Regions from separate parts of the Homo sapiens genome. Here regions 2 and 3 are each linked to region 1. The links are contacts of gene promoters, found by promoter capture Hi-C in human tissues and cell types (Jung and others, 2019). All regions are on one chromosome and are shown on one strand. The core of a region is centred on a gene start or on the middle of the fragment in contact, and the rest is flanking DNA. Distances in the headings are between cores, read along the strand shown. Region 1 holds the start of ITGB2 (integrin subunit beta 2). Region 2 has its middle 5.2 kb from the start of PTTG1IP. Region 3 overlaps SLX9 (SLX9 ribosome biogenesis factor).

Evidence for each region. Contacts are between HindIII fragments. The study calls those that stand out against the background at their distance.
Region 2: a contact is called between a fragment that was not itself captured here and the fragment with the promoter of ITGB2 in region 1, in 12 of the 25 tissues and cell types used here (H1 embryonic stem cells, IMR-90 fibroblasts, bladder and 9 more).
Region 3: a contact is called between a fragment that was not itself captured here and the fragment with the promoter of ITGB2 in region 1, in 2 of the 25 tissues and cell types used here (mesenchymal stem cells and spleen).

What each region holds. Positions count from the first base shown.
Region 1 is chr21:44,918,480-44,923,578 of GRCh38, forward strand. ITGB2 (integrin subunit beta 2) reads right to left here and starts at 2,420. Exons shown (of 16, transcript NM_000211.5): 1 at 2,342-2,420. ITGB2-AS1 (ITGB2 antisense RNA 1) reads left to right here and starts at 2,556. Exons shown (of 3, transcript NR_038316.1): 1 at 2,556-2,848. RefSeq lists a silencer at 1,011-1,070. The HindIII fragment of the contact is 46,650 bases long and covers 1-5,099 here.
Region 2 is chr21:44,876,386-44,881,484 of GRCh38, forward strand. No RefSeq gene overlaps it. Among named protein-coding and RNA genes, the nearest start is that of PTTG1IP, 5.2 kb to the left of the region's middle. RefSeq lists a silencer at 5,049-5,099. The HindIII fragment of the contact is 4,746 bases long and covers 603-5,099 here.
Region 3 is chr21:44,958,125-44,963,223 of GRCh38, forward strand. SLX9 (SLX9 ribosome biogenesis factor) reads left to right here. Exons shown (of 6, transcript NM_058190.4): 3 at 1,976-2,044. Among named protein-coding and RNA genes, the nearest start is that of SLX9, 21 kb to the left of the region's middle. The HindIII fragment of the contact is 4,593 bases long and covers 1,554-5,099 here.

The sequences.
Region 1 (5,099 bases), core at 1,170-3,669:
TGGAGTGCGCACAATTGGCCAGACCACCCCTCCTGTTTCACAGATGGGGAAACTGAGTCACGGGGGACCAAATAGCCTGCTCACCCCATGCCCCTTCCAGACAGGGTGCAGATAGGGCCCCTCCCATCTCCTGGATGGCCGCGGCCCCTGTGCAGAACTTCCTTCATGGGCACCTCGCTGTCTGGGGGCCTCTTCCCCAGGGAGTCTCCTGGTGGTGGCCGTGTTGCCTCAGGCTCACTGTGCACTAGGCAGGTCACGTCGATGCCGCCTGAGGGGCAGGGGTTACCACCCTGTGGTTCAGGTGAGAAGCTCCAGGCTCAGGAGTGTCCAGCTGCCTGGGCAGTGTTTGGATCTCATGCCAGCCCCTGCCAGGAGGCCCTGCTTCTCCAGCCCAGCCCACGCCCACCAGGAAATGCCCCTATTTACTCCCTTGAGGCAAAGGCCCTTGGGTGGCTAAGCGTCCCCTCTCCCAGCACTCGGAGCTGAGCGTCCCCTCTCCCAGCACTCGGAGCTGAGCATTCCCCTCTCCCAGCACTCGGAGGCACCTGCAGTTGCTCAGCTGTTCATTGAGTGCTGGGAGTGGAAACTCATACGCTGAGCGGCAGTGACGCTGCGGAGCTGACAAACCCCACAGCCCGCCCGGTCACCTGCTTCACCGAGGGCCACAGCCCCCCCGGGGTCAGGTGGCCACAGGGGTCCTGGCCATGTGGGACATCTGTTCTGTGGCCCTGCTCAGGATGGCACCCGGCGGGGACTGGCCCTGGGGCCGAGGCATGGGCTCAGCCGCCGCCCTGCAGGGACGTAGCCAGGGACCTCTTCCCAGCAGAGGGACTCCCCCACTCATCCCCAGAATACTGAGGGGCACGCTGGGTGCCAGGCTGGCAGGGACCCTGGGGATTCTGCTGTGAGCTGGATGGGGAAGGAGTTCCTTCCTAAAATGTGGAGTCTGGAGGCCACTCTTGGTAAAGTGCTGGCCCCCGGGGATTCTGCAGTGAGCTGGGCATGGATTCTGCAGTGAGCTGGGCTTCACTCATGGTGAAACGCTGGGGTGACGGCAGACAGCCCAGAGCTTCTAGCAGCTCATTTCTGTGAAGCCTCCAGAATCCGGCCTCAGCCCCCAAACCCGCAGGCGTTGCGCCACCGTCACGGGGAAGGCGAGTGACAGCGAGTGTCCCCTATGCCCCCACAGCTCGCTCCCAGGCTGAGCTCTCCGGCCATCCCCCCCCTTCCCCATTGCAGCCATGCCACCCCTCCTTCTCCCCACCCAGGAACTGACAGAGGAGAGGGGCCCCGGATGGACAGGGACAGCAGGGCAGAATCCCAGCTCCCAGATCCAGGGGAGGGGGGATTGGGTGTGGGGACGGTGGTGCAAGGGGTGGTGCCAGGGGTGGAGGATGCATGGGGAGGGCTGGCCCCAAGAGTGCAGTGTTGGGGGAAGGGGGCCAGGTGGGCCTGGGACCCAGGGGCGTGGCTTCAATCCCCCTCCCACCAGGACCTTGGGAATGGCCTCCAGGAGCCTGTTGTGGGGAGGCCAGGGTCACCAGCTGAACCAACTCGACCAGAATCGCACAGCGGTGCCCGCTCCCCTACAGCAAGACGTCACCCAGGGGTCCCCACGGAGGAGGCAGGGAAGCTCGAGGGTCCCAGAGGAGCATGGAGCATGTGCCACACCACACCACACTACATTACACATGTGCACCATACATGTACATACAACAGACTCCCCACATCACATGCGCACACTCGCACACCATACATGCACACACACACACCACACTACGCTATGCCACACACGTGCACCATACATGCACACCATGCCACACTACACACACGACACTACACACCACGAACCACACCACACCATATCACACACCACACACTGCGAGTCGATCTGGAGATGGAATCGCTGTAGCCAGGCGGGGCAGCATGCAGACAGGAGGGCCTAACACAGGCAGGCGCAGCAGGTTCACAGAGGAGGCCCCGGGAACCTGCCTCCTGCCCAGCCCGGAGCACCAGGACCCCCCAGCCGTCCCCCTAGGGGCTTGTGGGCCCAGCCTCTTCCTGGCCTTGCCGGCCTCACAGCCCCTTGTCCTCCCATGCCGGCCCCATCCTCAGCCGCAAGCGCTCCCAGCACACCATGTGGCTCTGCTCTTGGTGGCAGGCACTTCCCCTTGCCGGGTCTCAAAGGGGACCCTGGAGCAGACGGTCTGGAGACCCCTTCCTGCCAGACACCCCTGGGCCGGGGCTATAAGCAGGGCCACCAGGGTCACTCCAGGCTGGGGCAGGAGAGTGCTTCCCTCCAAAAATCACCGTGGACATAGCGGGGCCTCTGCACACTCACCCTCGGTGTGCTGGAGTCCTCGGCGGTGCTCCTGGCTGGGCGTGGGGGCTTTGCTACCAGTCTGCCCTGGGTCACGTCTAGAAACCTCAGCTGGAGGCGCGGGTCGTAAAGTCCTGACACTTCCTGTTCCTCTCAGCTCCTCCTTGGAGGAAGTGGTGGGTTGCACCACCGTGGCCCTTCACCCCTGCCCCTCTCCGCTCTACAGCAGCTCTGATGTCAGAGAGCGGCCCCTTGAGACAGGTGGGACATGTCATTTCTCACATGAGGTCCCGGCGAGAAGGACCTGCTTCCATCAGATTCACACTTGGGAGAGGGGCCCGGCCTCCAGGAGCGCCAGGCAGAAAGGGCACCCATTAGGAAGAAGAACACAGAGGCCATGGGAGTGAAAAGTTTGATGCTGGAAAGCAACAGTAGCACATTCTGCTACAGAGCGGAATGAAAAACCCTGGGGAGCAAATTCCTGAGCCAGAGAATGGAGCGGAGGAACCAGCCAAGGAGGATAAAGAGGTGGGAACAGGCAAGAAAACCTGGGTGCGTGCACGCATTGACATCCACCTGCATGTGAGGGCGGGAGGGGACAGAACAGGGACAGCGAGGAGGAGACACTCAGGTCACAGGAGGAAGGCTGCGGATCTGGGCGGGGACGTGGATTGCGAGGCCACTGAACACCCCAGGGATGGATGGATGAGGTCCTGTTAACTAGGGACATTAGGAGGATACCACAGAACACGAAAGGGAAAATACTACAGGCTCAGAGAGAGAGAGAAGGGAGAGGAGGAGGAGGAGGAAGAGGAGGGAAAGAGATTATACCTAGAAAAAAAACCCAAATCAGACATCTTCAGAGCAAGGACTCAGACACATTACTACCCTAAACTCTGTTTTATTTATTTATTTATTTTTATGTTTTCAGTTTTTTTTGAGACAGAGTTTTGCTTTTGTCACCCAGGCTGGAGTGCAGTGGCGTGATCTCAGCTCACTGCAACCTCTGCCTCCCGGGTTCAAGCAATTCTCCTGCCTCAGCCTCCCAAGTAGCTGGGATTACAGGCACATGTACCACCACGCCTGGGTAATTTTTGTATTCTTAGTAGAGACAGGGTTTCACTATGTTGACCAGGCTGGTCTTGAACTCCTGGCTTCAAGTGATCCATCCACCTCTGCCTTCCAAAGTGCTGGGATTACTGGCGTGAGCCATGGCTCCCGGCTCCTAAACTCTGTTTTAAAGATGTCTTGCAGAAATAGACATGAAGAAATCCATGAGAAATACAAGAGCAGATGATACAAAGTTGGGCAAAGAAATAAGTAAAAATTATGATGTCATAACCTGTTGATTTAAAAAATAGTGGTAAGAATATTAACGCTGTGAAACAAAACGCCTAGAGGACTGGGTTGGGAGGGGCCAGGGAGCACATTGCCGTTCCATCCTATCTGGGGAGGAATATAGATGCTTGTCAGTGGGCATTTTGATAGAAAATATCTAAGTATATATGCTAACAATTCAAGAGTCTCCTTAAGAATAAAAATAGCATGTATATACCTGAAAAAAAATATGACAAATCTTTATTTTGGGCATGGTGGCTCAAACTTGTAATCCCAGCACTTTGGGAGGCCGAGGTGGGAGGATCACTTGAGCCCAGGAGTTCGAGACCAGCCTAGGCAACATTTGGAGACCCAGACCCTCATCTCTACAAAAAAATTTTCTAAGAATTCGCCAGGCATGGTAGCACGCGATATGGTCCAGGCTACTTGGGAGGCTGAGGTGGGAGAATTGCTTGAGCCCAAGAGGTTGAGGCTACGGTGAACCATGCTTACACCACTGCACTCCAGTCTGGGTAACTGAGAAAAAAAAAAAAAAAAAAAGGCAAATCCTTTAAAAGAAAAAAGTAAGGGAAAATAGAACAAACAAGAAAGGTAAATAAAAACCAAACAATAAAACATTGGGAATAATTTCAAACCCATCAGGAATCACAGCACCTGTGAATGGGTTACATTTTCTTGTTTTAAATCAACAAGGTCTTGCGTTGGGTTTTAGAAATAAAGAGACAAAACAAGTTCCAATGAAATGTTCTCTGTCAAGGGTATCTTCTCATTACAGACTTAGCCTAGAAAATAATGAAGAAGGACAGAAAGAGAATACCATTCTACTACACCCGCTGATGACTTAAAGTAAGCAATGACCCTCGCTGCGAACGTCACGGACGCAGCAGACGTTATGCACACACCTTTAATGAATTAGTCTTGATGAAATAACAATAGAAATCAAGAAAAATAGAAAGAACAAATGTTACTATTGAGCCTGAATCAGGTCGAACTTTTTAGATCTACAAAGAAGCATCAGGAGGGTGTGTTAGATGACATCGTAGGGATGCAATTAGCAAAATCCAGGCTGAAGAAACCCTCACAAGGCAAACAGCACAGTACAAGAGGAGAGACGAAGGGAGAGAGACCCTTTAGATTAAGAGATTTAATCTCTTAATAGAACCAATTGCAATGCATGGACCATATTTTAAAATCATTGTTAATTGTTTTAAGTGTGACAATGGTTTGTGGTTATGTTAAAAAGTCCCCATCTTTTAGAGTTACATGTTGAAATATTTGCAGATGGTGCAGTATAATGTTTCAGATTTATTTCCCAATAAAGAGGGGTGGGTTGGGTTGGGGGAGAGTCGGGAGAGGTGTTGATACAACAAGATCACCTGTGAGTTGATTATTTTTGAAGCCACTGTTGGGGACATGGGGCTTCACTAATCTATTCTCTCTA
Region 2 (5,099 bases), core at 1,726-4,225, 42 kb before region 1:
CCCAAAGTGCTGGGATTACAGGCGTGAGCCACCACGCCTGGCCATAAAAATTATTTAAAATAGTTAACACGAGTTCCCATTGCTGACATAAGCTTTTGCTGATAGAGCAGCCGTGTTTTCTGTAATAAATCCCATCTTGTTACAAGGTTCCATTCCTTGGAGTCAAAAAAAAGTTCAAAGGGTAGGTGTCACTAATACGCCTGTAACGGCACGTAAATCTCAGCCTATAGCTTTTCAACTAGGTCCTTTACAAGGGACTCACATTTTCCTTCTGGTTCTATCAGCTGCCAGCCATCTTATAAAAGGAGACTTCTTAGAATTACAATATCCACGTTTCTTTCTCCCAAAGGGGGAAGACGTATTTAGAATTAGATGAGAAAGCTGAGTTACTAGACATAAAAAAAGTTTCAAAATCTAACCCAATTGCGATCCCTAATTGCCCTAGAAGACACTGAATTATTGAATAATGAAGAATTACAAAACCTACTAAAGGCAGTACTTGATCAAATATGGTCAGAGTCTTCCACTGATACTGGAAGAATCCTCTTGGCTACCCCGATCAAAGTCCTTTAGTGTAGTGGACTTATTAGCACATCCTTCAGTAGTTCTGTGTGTGAAAGTGTTGATTTCTCTTTACCTTTACTTGGGAAGGCAGACAATACACACAGACAGCCATGCTCAGGGCTACACTGAGAGTCCAACTGATGCAAAGACAGTTGTCTTACATACTGACTTGTTCTTTTTTTTTTTTTTTTGACGGAGTTTCGCTCTTGTTGTCCAGGCTGGAGTGCAATGGCGCTACCTCGGCTCACTGCAACCTCTGCCTCCCGGGTTCAAGCAATTCTCCCACCTCAGTCTCCCGAGTAGCTGAGATTACAGGCATGCGCCACCATGCCTGGCTAATTTCGTATTTTTAGTAGAGATGGAGTTTCTCCATGTTGGTCAGGCTGGTCTCAAACTCTGAACCCCAGGTGATCCGCCCACTGCAACCTCCCAGAGTGTTGGAATTACAGGCGCGAGGCACTGGGCCCAGTCTTTTGACTTGTTCTTAAAAAAAATTTTTTATTACAATACATGGGCAGTTTACTCCTTTGCTCAGAAGATAAGCAAAGCTTTTATAGAAGATGGGATACATTCATTACAACAGCCCTAAAGGGACATAAAATTCCTAAAGAAAAACCTCAATTTTATAAAAAACAAAGTACTTGGGCCACTTAATATCTAAAGAAAGACTTTCTACTAATCTAGATAGACTGAAAGGAATTTTAGCTTTCCACCACCAACAACCAAGAAACAAAAGGATGTGGAGGACTGGCAGGATATTATAGAAATTGGATCCCAAACTTTTCTTTAAAGCTCAGTCCTTATACGCTCTCTAAAAACAGGACATGCCAGGACTTTAGAGTGGTCAGAAGAAAATACACCAACATTTGAAATGATCAAACGTGACCTTGCTAATGCTCCGCCTTTGGGGCATACAAATTATAACCTTCCATTCTATTATTTGTATAATACATGAAAGTGGTGGAGATGCTTTAGGGGTTCCTAAAACACTGTTATATGTAAAAATTGTTATTTAGAAACAGAATGCTTGTTCCCAAGTGCTGCAAAGACACAGCACTCGAACATAAATTTAATTCTCTCAGCAAGGCCATTTTTACTTTCTGCAGAAGGGGTGCTCATCACAGATGGAACAATGGCGAGAGCACACCTGAACAAAGGAGGGAAGCCATTTTCATCCCTGCCGCTGTTTGGCCCTGCTACTGTGTCCTGTCTCCATTGGCTGGAGCCAGACCTCACAATCTAAACTAAAACCCGATTGGCTAACAGTTTAAAACTTTTCTAAATAGGTAAAAGTAATGGAAAGACAAAGGAAAAGAGGAAGTTGCTTAATACCAAATAGGGAAGGGGCATAGGCTGCGAGCTGGAATGTGCCTGTGGGCAGGTCCAGCACAAATATCCTGGTTAAGGTTCAAGGACATAGAATGTACTACGTGCCCGTGAGCAAGTGTAACAGCTACACAGGCTAGAGCTTAACGAGCAGTTATTAGCACGAAGCCAGGAGGCTTGAAGGAAGTTAGTTTTTAAAAGAAACTATTATTTTTAACACTTATGATTTACTCTTTAACAAGAAGGGAAACTTTGAAGAGGAACTTTTTGCTTTCTACAAACACAAAGATCGAAACAGACAATCATTGCCACAGTTCCCTAAAATATAATCCAGGAAAACCATTATAAGGACATTTCCCTTTACCCGAGGCCCTTGTGAGTTATGACCATTAGATGCCATGCTGTTGCCACCCTCAGAAACATACAAACATGTTCTGATAACAATTTACTTGTTTTCTCACTGGGCAGAGGCATTTCCATGCAGAAGAGCACTGCCTTAGCAGTGAGTAAAATTGCTGTAGAAAAAGGTATTGCAACCTGGGGAGTTCCTCTGGAACTTGTAGCAATAGAGGAACTCACTTCGCTGGACGGATGATTCAATCAGTATGTAAACTTTGGCCCATCCTCCAGCATTTCCATTGCGCTTACCACACCCAGTCATCTGGGTTAGTGAAATGCACCAATGGAATAATCAAAACTCAGTTGGCAAAATTAACCAAGGCTTTTCAAATTCCTTGGTCAGAAGTTCTTCTACTGGTTCTGCTTAATCAGAGGTCGACCCCTTTAGGTAAACACCAGTTATCTCTGCTAAAAATTAGGCAGACCCATGAAATTATCTCCAAGAAACTGTACGTCTATGATATTAAAGGGAGACATATTCAGCTATTGCAGTGCCCTTGCAAAACATTAATGAAAAATTATAATTGGCAAAAATAATCTTTTCACAGTGAGCTCCTGGGAAACAAAAATTTCAAGGACCACAGACTTCAACCAGGAGATTTTGTCTATTGGAAATGACATTTTTTAAAAAGTCTCTGCAACCTGCTATGGACCTTATCAGGTACTCCTGACCAGCCTTCACCATAAAATTAGAAGACGACCCTTGAATTCACATCTCCCATCTAAAGAAATCTGAGCCTCGGCTGGGCGCGGTGGCTCACTCCTATAATCCCACCACTTTGGGAAGCCAAGGCAGGTGGATCACCTGAGATCAGGAGTTCGAGACCAGCCTGGCCAACACGGTGAAATCCCATCTCTACTAAAAATATAAAAATTAGCCAGGCATGGTGGCGCACCTGTAATCCCAGCTACTCAGGTGGCTGAGGCAGGAGAATTGCTTGAACCCGGGAGGCAGAGGTTGCAATGAGCCGAGATTGTGCCACTGCCCTCCAGCCTTGGTGACAGAGTGAGATTCCATCTCAAAAACAAAGAAAACTGAGCCTCCGAAATGGGCTCTTGTACCAGAAGGTGATACCCTGGGACAGCTGGGACAGTGTTCTTTGGGTTATGCCGGTCACAAGGTCAAATATTTCATACCGTTTCACACTCACCAATCTTCCTCATCTACAGTCTTGTCAGATTCATCCTGTATTCCATTGGTATCATCATTTAGCTTCTGTCTTTCTGCCATAACTGGGTATTGAAGGCGTTACTTGACACGTAGAGGCCCTCACCAGTTACACACAAAAGGCCTTAAGATATAGCCAGGTATCTCATGATTAAATGATAAACTTACCTGAGAAAATCTGTATTATAAAACCATATGGCTTTAGACATACTCACCGCAGCTCGAGGGTAACCTGTGCTATCGTAAAACTAAAAGCTGTGTCTGTATCCCAGATAAACCAAATAACATCACTAAATTCATGGCTGATGTGAAATCCACATAAACCAACCTTTCAGAGCCAAAACCTCCTCCAAACAACTGGCTAAATAGCTGGTTGGGATCTTGGCAAAATTAGTGACAAAAACTGTTAACTTATTCTAGAAATTACAATCATTTTTTACGTTTGTCCTGTTTGCTCAGGCTCAGCATAAAGGGATAAAGTGGATGCAAAGGGACCTTAGTGACAGCAAACTGTGTCTCTGACCCACGTCTTCCAGTTCAAATACTTTACATCTTCATTGGGATCTTCGATTGTATCAAAAGATGTTTAAAAAGCCATTTGCAGGCCAGGCACAGTGGCTCATGCTTGTAATCCCAACAGTGGGAGGCCAAGGCAGGTGTATCACTTGAGGTCAGGAGACCAGCATGGCCAACATGGTGAAACCCTGTCTCTAGTAAAAATCCAAAAATTAGCCGGGTATGGTGGCACACACCTGTAGTCTCAGCTACTTGGAGGCCAAGGCAGGAGAATCTCTTGAACCCAGGAGACAGAGGTTGCAGTGAGCTGAGATCGCACCACTGCACTCCAGCCTGGGCCACGGAGTGAGACTACATCTGAAAAAAAAAAAAAATCAGTTTGCAGAAACAGAATAAACACAAGTCTAGTTTAGAACTATGCCCCTGAAACAATACAACCACACAATGCTAATTTAATGGTATTTGATGGACATTAGGTGTTTGTAAACATTAACCAAAACTCGGTGAATATCACCACATTTTAAACAATGCACAATGGCATTTTAAAATATAACTAAGTTCTGGGACAACTTAACAATGCAGAAGTTCAAAAAATGCATGGTATAACCCCAGTTCCTGTTTTAACCGCATGGAAGTCAAGATTTAAAAAGAGGAAATGGGAGGCATTGTGTAATTTAACATGTCTGGAATCCAAAGATACATATTCAATTGTCAAAGAGCTTCAAGCTCAGAGGAATGACCCAAACGGCACATTGTACAGGAAGTACAACCGTTATGACTCTTTACAGAAACAGGATGATTACTTAGAGCAGTCTGGAATTAAAAGTGCATATGTCTTTCCATGAAGAAAGATGGTTAGGGAATTAAACTGATACAGTCACAATGGTATCAACTTAGGAGAAATGACAGCCGAGCCCCAGAGCAATGGAAAGGGCTGTCCACAGGACCAGACAGCCACAGTGGGCTGGGGCCAGAGAGGGGAAGTTCCAGGGTCCCCACCTAGTTGTGCATATTGGAGTCACCTGCCAGGGATTTCCACCAGCGGGTTTATTTGGTGGTTAAGTGTCTGTGCAGTTGGATTTTTTTTGTATGTGGTCATTATGAGTACATTCCTTAGTGGGTGACT
Region 3 (5,099 bases), core at 2,600-5,099, 41 kb after region 1:
CGGGCTCGGCGGATGACCTGCCTCAGGTGTGGCCCCTGCTGCCGTCACTTTGTCACTAATCAGACGTGTTTGGTGACCTTCCCCTCCCCATAGCCACTGGGGCTGTAGTGCTGGTGCTGCTGGGATCTGGGTTTGGGGCGAGGCCCAGGACAGTAGCAGCTCCCGACACCCTTGCTTGAGGCCCAGCATCTGCACTCCCAGCCCGGCCCTCCTCCAAGCTGGCATTTCTGCTGCACCCACGGGACGCTCCTGTGCTTCCGCAGCACCGGCGAGAGCTGTGGTGTGCTGGCCTTGTCGTAGGTAAGTTTAGAAACCGGAGCAGCTCGAGCGGACTTCACACTGTCCCCACCACAGGGTGGGGTGCGCCCACCTGCCCTGTCCATGTGGCCTTGGGCCTGCGGGGGAGAGGGAATCAGGACCCACAGGGCGAGCCCCCTCCGTAGCCCGCGGCACCGACTGGATCTCAGTGAACACCCGTCAGCCCATCCAGAGGCTAGAAGGGGGAGCAGGCGTGAACCTGTGCCGGAGCACTTCAGCAAGGGCGCCTTGGGCCCGGAAAGCGGCGGGAGCTGGGGGTCGTGGGGCCGCCGCCAGCAGTTCCAGGCGGCCTCTGCTCCAGCTGCAGCATTCCAAGCCCTCTCCTCCTGCAGGAGCAGCGTGTTTGGTTCCTGTTGTCCTGGTGCCATGGCAATGGGGCTGGGGAGCTCCCTGGGGCCAGAGCCGGGAAGGATCACTGTGCTGTGTTCCTGACCTGGCCTGCGCCCAGGCCTCGTTTTCTTCATTCCAACACAACACAGGTCACTGTTCGGGTCAGTTTCCACTGGTCTTAGATTCATTTTTCTTTTGAAACAATTTCAAAACTACAGAAAAGCTGCAAAATCAGCCCCTCCCCTTTGTGGTCGGGAGGGAGAGGTTGGGATGCTATGGAGGAAAGTAGGTCAACCCAGGCACACCAGGAAGCTGTGGGAGGGGATTAAATCCTGCGGGAGCCCTGGGCCTTGGAGGTTTCACACCGGCTCCTGAAGTGAAGTCTGAAATGCAGAGCGCAGCGACTGCCTTTCTCCAGGCAGGGCTTGCTTCTGCTTTGTTTTTCATTAGACATGGTGGATTTGTTGGACAAGCCAGGAAGGTCTGCATGAATTAAAAGAGATACTGGGAGATGTGTTCTGGGGAGAATGCAGCCGAGGCTGAACCGTCTCGGGAAATCAGTTAAGGCCGAGGAAATGGGGGTGCCCTTGAGTCCACTCTGTTTCAGAGCAAACTGGAGTCAGAGACGCAGCACCCAGTGCCCTCTCCACCTGTCCCCACCTGCACGGCCCTGCAGGCTCATCCCACCCCTGCCCCTGTCCCCCCAGCAAATGAGCCTCCTTTCCCCGCCCACCGGGCAGGTGGCTGGGCTCCGCGTGGACCAAGCACAGGGGCACCTGTGGAGTTCACTTTTGGAGGCTCCCTGAGAGGGCCGCTTTGTGGGGTCCAGGGATGAAGCCTCTGGTCACCGAGCACATTGTCGGGCCTGGCAGGGGGCAGGGAGCACGTACGTCGCTGGGCCTGACGTGACCACACAGGATCTTGGGGATGTCCCCCTAAGGGCCTCTGTCCTGTTCGTGGCCCCCTTCATGAGCCGTCGGGCATTCCTGCATGGCTTCACTGCAATGACTGCCCTGACAGTCATTCGGGGCATGAGTGGGGAGGAGGCCTCCTTGTTGGGACACCTGCTTTCCGGGGCAGGCTGGGGTGAGTGGCCAGGCCATCACTGCGGGGGGACGCTGCTGAGAGAGCCTCCTGAGGCCGGGCCGAGGCATGCTGCAGGTGCCCCTGGTGCTGTCCAGAGCCGGGAGTCTGAGAGGCTGGCACAGGCCAGACCAGTTGCAGTGACTGTGGCAGCTCTGCAGTCAGGACCCGCCCCAGCCCATTCTCAGGTCATGGGAGTGCCACCTGGACACGTTTTGCTCACTCCCGTGTTCTCTTTCCTCAGGTGCAGAGGCCAAGACCGTTTTGCCCAAGAAGGAGAAAATGAAGCTGAGGCGTGAGCAATGGTTGCAGAGTAAGTCCATGCCTGCGTCTTGAGGCAGCTGCCGGCCCAAGTCCCATCCCGTGGGCCCTCCTATTCCTACAGCCTCACATCTGGCCTTCTACATCAGCCACACTCCCCGAGGAGTGCCCAAGGGGATCACCCAAGACACTTCAGAGGCTGCTGTGGGGGCCGAAGGACAGTGGAGGCACAGAGAGGTTGGCCATGAAGACTTGGCAGCATGGCCAAGCTGGTCTGGCCTGTTGTGGATGGCACTGCCACCCCGTCCGTGTGGGCACCTGCAGAGCTGGGCTGCCTCCCTTTGGAGGACGGCCTTGGGAAGCTGCTGCTCTCGGCTCCTTGTTTGTAAAAATTACCTATTTTTGTTCCCCACCGTGAAATTTTTTATTGTGGAAGTAACCTGTGCTCGTGGAGTTTTTATGGTTCAGAAGTGCCTGCAGTGGTATGTGAAATCCTTCCAGGCCTTGCCCGCGGTGAAAACAGTGTCTGCGCATAGCGGCGTGGGTGTGGGCAGGGCCCCTGGTGTCCCCAGACCCTTTCAGGCCTGTGGCTCCCTCTTTTCTGAGGTCAGCCTTGCCACGTGCTCCCAGCTGCACGTCTCCGCAGGCTGAAAGCCACACTTCCCACTCAGGTTGTTTTGGAGTATCTCCTTATTTTTCGTGATGCTGGATATTTGCCAGTGTTTTTCTAAGATTGTTTCTCGTCAAAATTATTTTGTATTTTTCGGTTATCTTTTTAGTGTGATTCTGCTGACTTTGTGAAATTAATTTGGAATATTTTCTTTTTTATGTTATCTGCTTTATTTTTTCCTTGGAGGTTTTAAAGAAAATGTATGTTTTTCAGAGGTAGGACCTAGAAAACTTTGTCAGTTTCTTTTGTGATTATTAGTTTTATGGTTTCTATCCCTTTTTGGATATTTCTTAGGGAAATGATTCATTCCTCCATTTTCTTTTTCACAGTTCCTAGCATAGCTGTGAAAGTGGATTTGGACGGGCTACTGGACTGTGGCCATTTGGACCCTGATTTTCTAGGCTGTAATTCTTTGATGATGTGTAAATTTTATTCCATGGCACTTGGTCCTTTTTTTTTGTTTTTTCACAACTTGAGTCAATTTTGGCCACTCATAAAATGATCGAATTTGTCTGAGGATGGTGTCTCATGCCTGTAATCCCAGCACTTTGGAAGGTTGAGATGGAAGGATCACCTACGCCCAGGAGTTTCAGACTAGCCTGGGCAATATAGCGAGACCTTGTCTCTACAAAAAATGTAAAAATTAGTCAGATTAGGTGGTGTATGCCTCTGAGCCTCTAGTCCTAGCGACTTAGGAGGCTGAGGTAGGAAGATCGCTTCAACCCAGGAGTTTGAGGCTGCAGTGAACCGTAATTGCACTAGTGCACTCCAGCCTGGGTGACAGAGTGGGTCCTTGTCTCTAAATAATGTTAATGATCAAATTTAGTCAGATCTCAATCTTCATATGTTAGTTGCCTTCTTATTAAATATTCTGTTTTCTTTATCGTTCTTTATTTGTATCTCCACCTTCATTTCTGATTAAATTAAGAAGTTTTGTCTCTTCCATTTAATAATTAATGTATTTAATAACCAATTCTACTCTTTTGTCTTCAAAATTATTTGTTTTTATTTTGATCACTCCCGTTTTAGCTTTCTTTGGGTTTCAGTTACTCTGCTTATCTGTTTGTATATGTTTTGTTCAGGAGTGAAAGGCTGTAAGTTATCTCTAAATACAGCTTTAGCTACATTTCCCAAGTTACTTTTACTTTGTATTTTATTATGAAAAATTTTATTTAGGAAAGTGGGAAGAATTTTATAGGGAATACCCTGTACCCACCACACAGATTTTACAATCTTTATTACATAACCGTTCATCTAGCAGTTTCTGTCCATCTACCAACATGGGTTTTTAAAAATGCGTTTCAAAGTAAATGGCAGACATCAGTACACTCCACCCCAAATAATTCTGCTAGAGTTCATGGTTCTTTTTTTTTCTTTTTCTTTTGAAGATTGTATTTACATAAAATGAAATGCAAATCTAAAGTGTGCCATTCAATGATTGCTGACAAATGTTGTAGACACCTGTGCAGCTGAAATCCTGTTCAGGTTATGGACCATCACCACCATTCCCCGACAGTCACGCACCCCCCCAGTCAATTACCTCTCCCACTGGCCCCAGAGGTAACAACTGCTGTGTCACCCTTTGTCGTCCACAGTTGAGCTTTTCTTGCCTTAGACTCTGTATAAATGGAATCATGTAGGATGCACTCTTTCTGCATCTGGCTGCTTTTGCTCAGCGTAATGGTTTTGAAACCCATCCAGGCTGCATGTAGCAGCAGTCCATGCCTTTTGATTGCTGAGAAGTATTTCATTGTATGAATACACCATTTGTTACTCACTTTCCTGCTGATGGGCACCTGGGCTTTTTTCCATTTTTAGCTACTGTGAATAAGGCTGCTCTGAACATTCTTTACAAGTCTTTTTGTGGACATGTTTTCGTTTCTCTTGGGTAAGTGCTGAGGAATGGAATGCTGGGTCATAGGGTAGGTGTATGTTTAGTTTTATAAGCAGCTGCCAGACGCTTTTCTAGAGTGGTTGTACACTCACACTCCCACCAGAGCCTGTGAGAGTTCTCCTGGCCCTCAGCTTTGCCAACACATGGCCTGCCGTCTCCTCAGCCTCGGCCGTCTGGTAATCATGAAATGGTATCTCACGGTGGTACTCATTTCCGTTGCCACCAAAAGAGCATTTACATGTGCTTACTGTCCATTTGTGTTTCAGCGTCAGTGAAATTCATTTTTCATGAGGCTTTTTGTCTTTTTATTATTGAGCTCTAAGAGTTCTTTGTCCTAGAGTCCAGTCTTTGGTTGGATATGTGTTTTACAGATGTTTTTCCCAGACTGTGACTTGCCTGTTCATTTTCTTTCTTTTTTTTTTTTTTTGAGATAGAGTCTTGCTCTGTCGCCAGGCTGGAGTGCAGTGGTGCGATCTTGGCTCACTGCAAGCAACACCTCCTGGGTTCAAGCGATTCTTCTGCCTCAGCCTTCTGAGTAGCCGG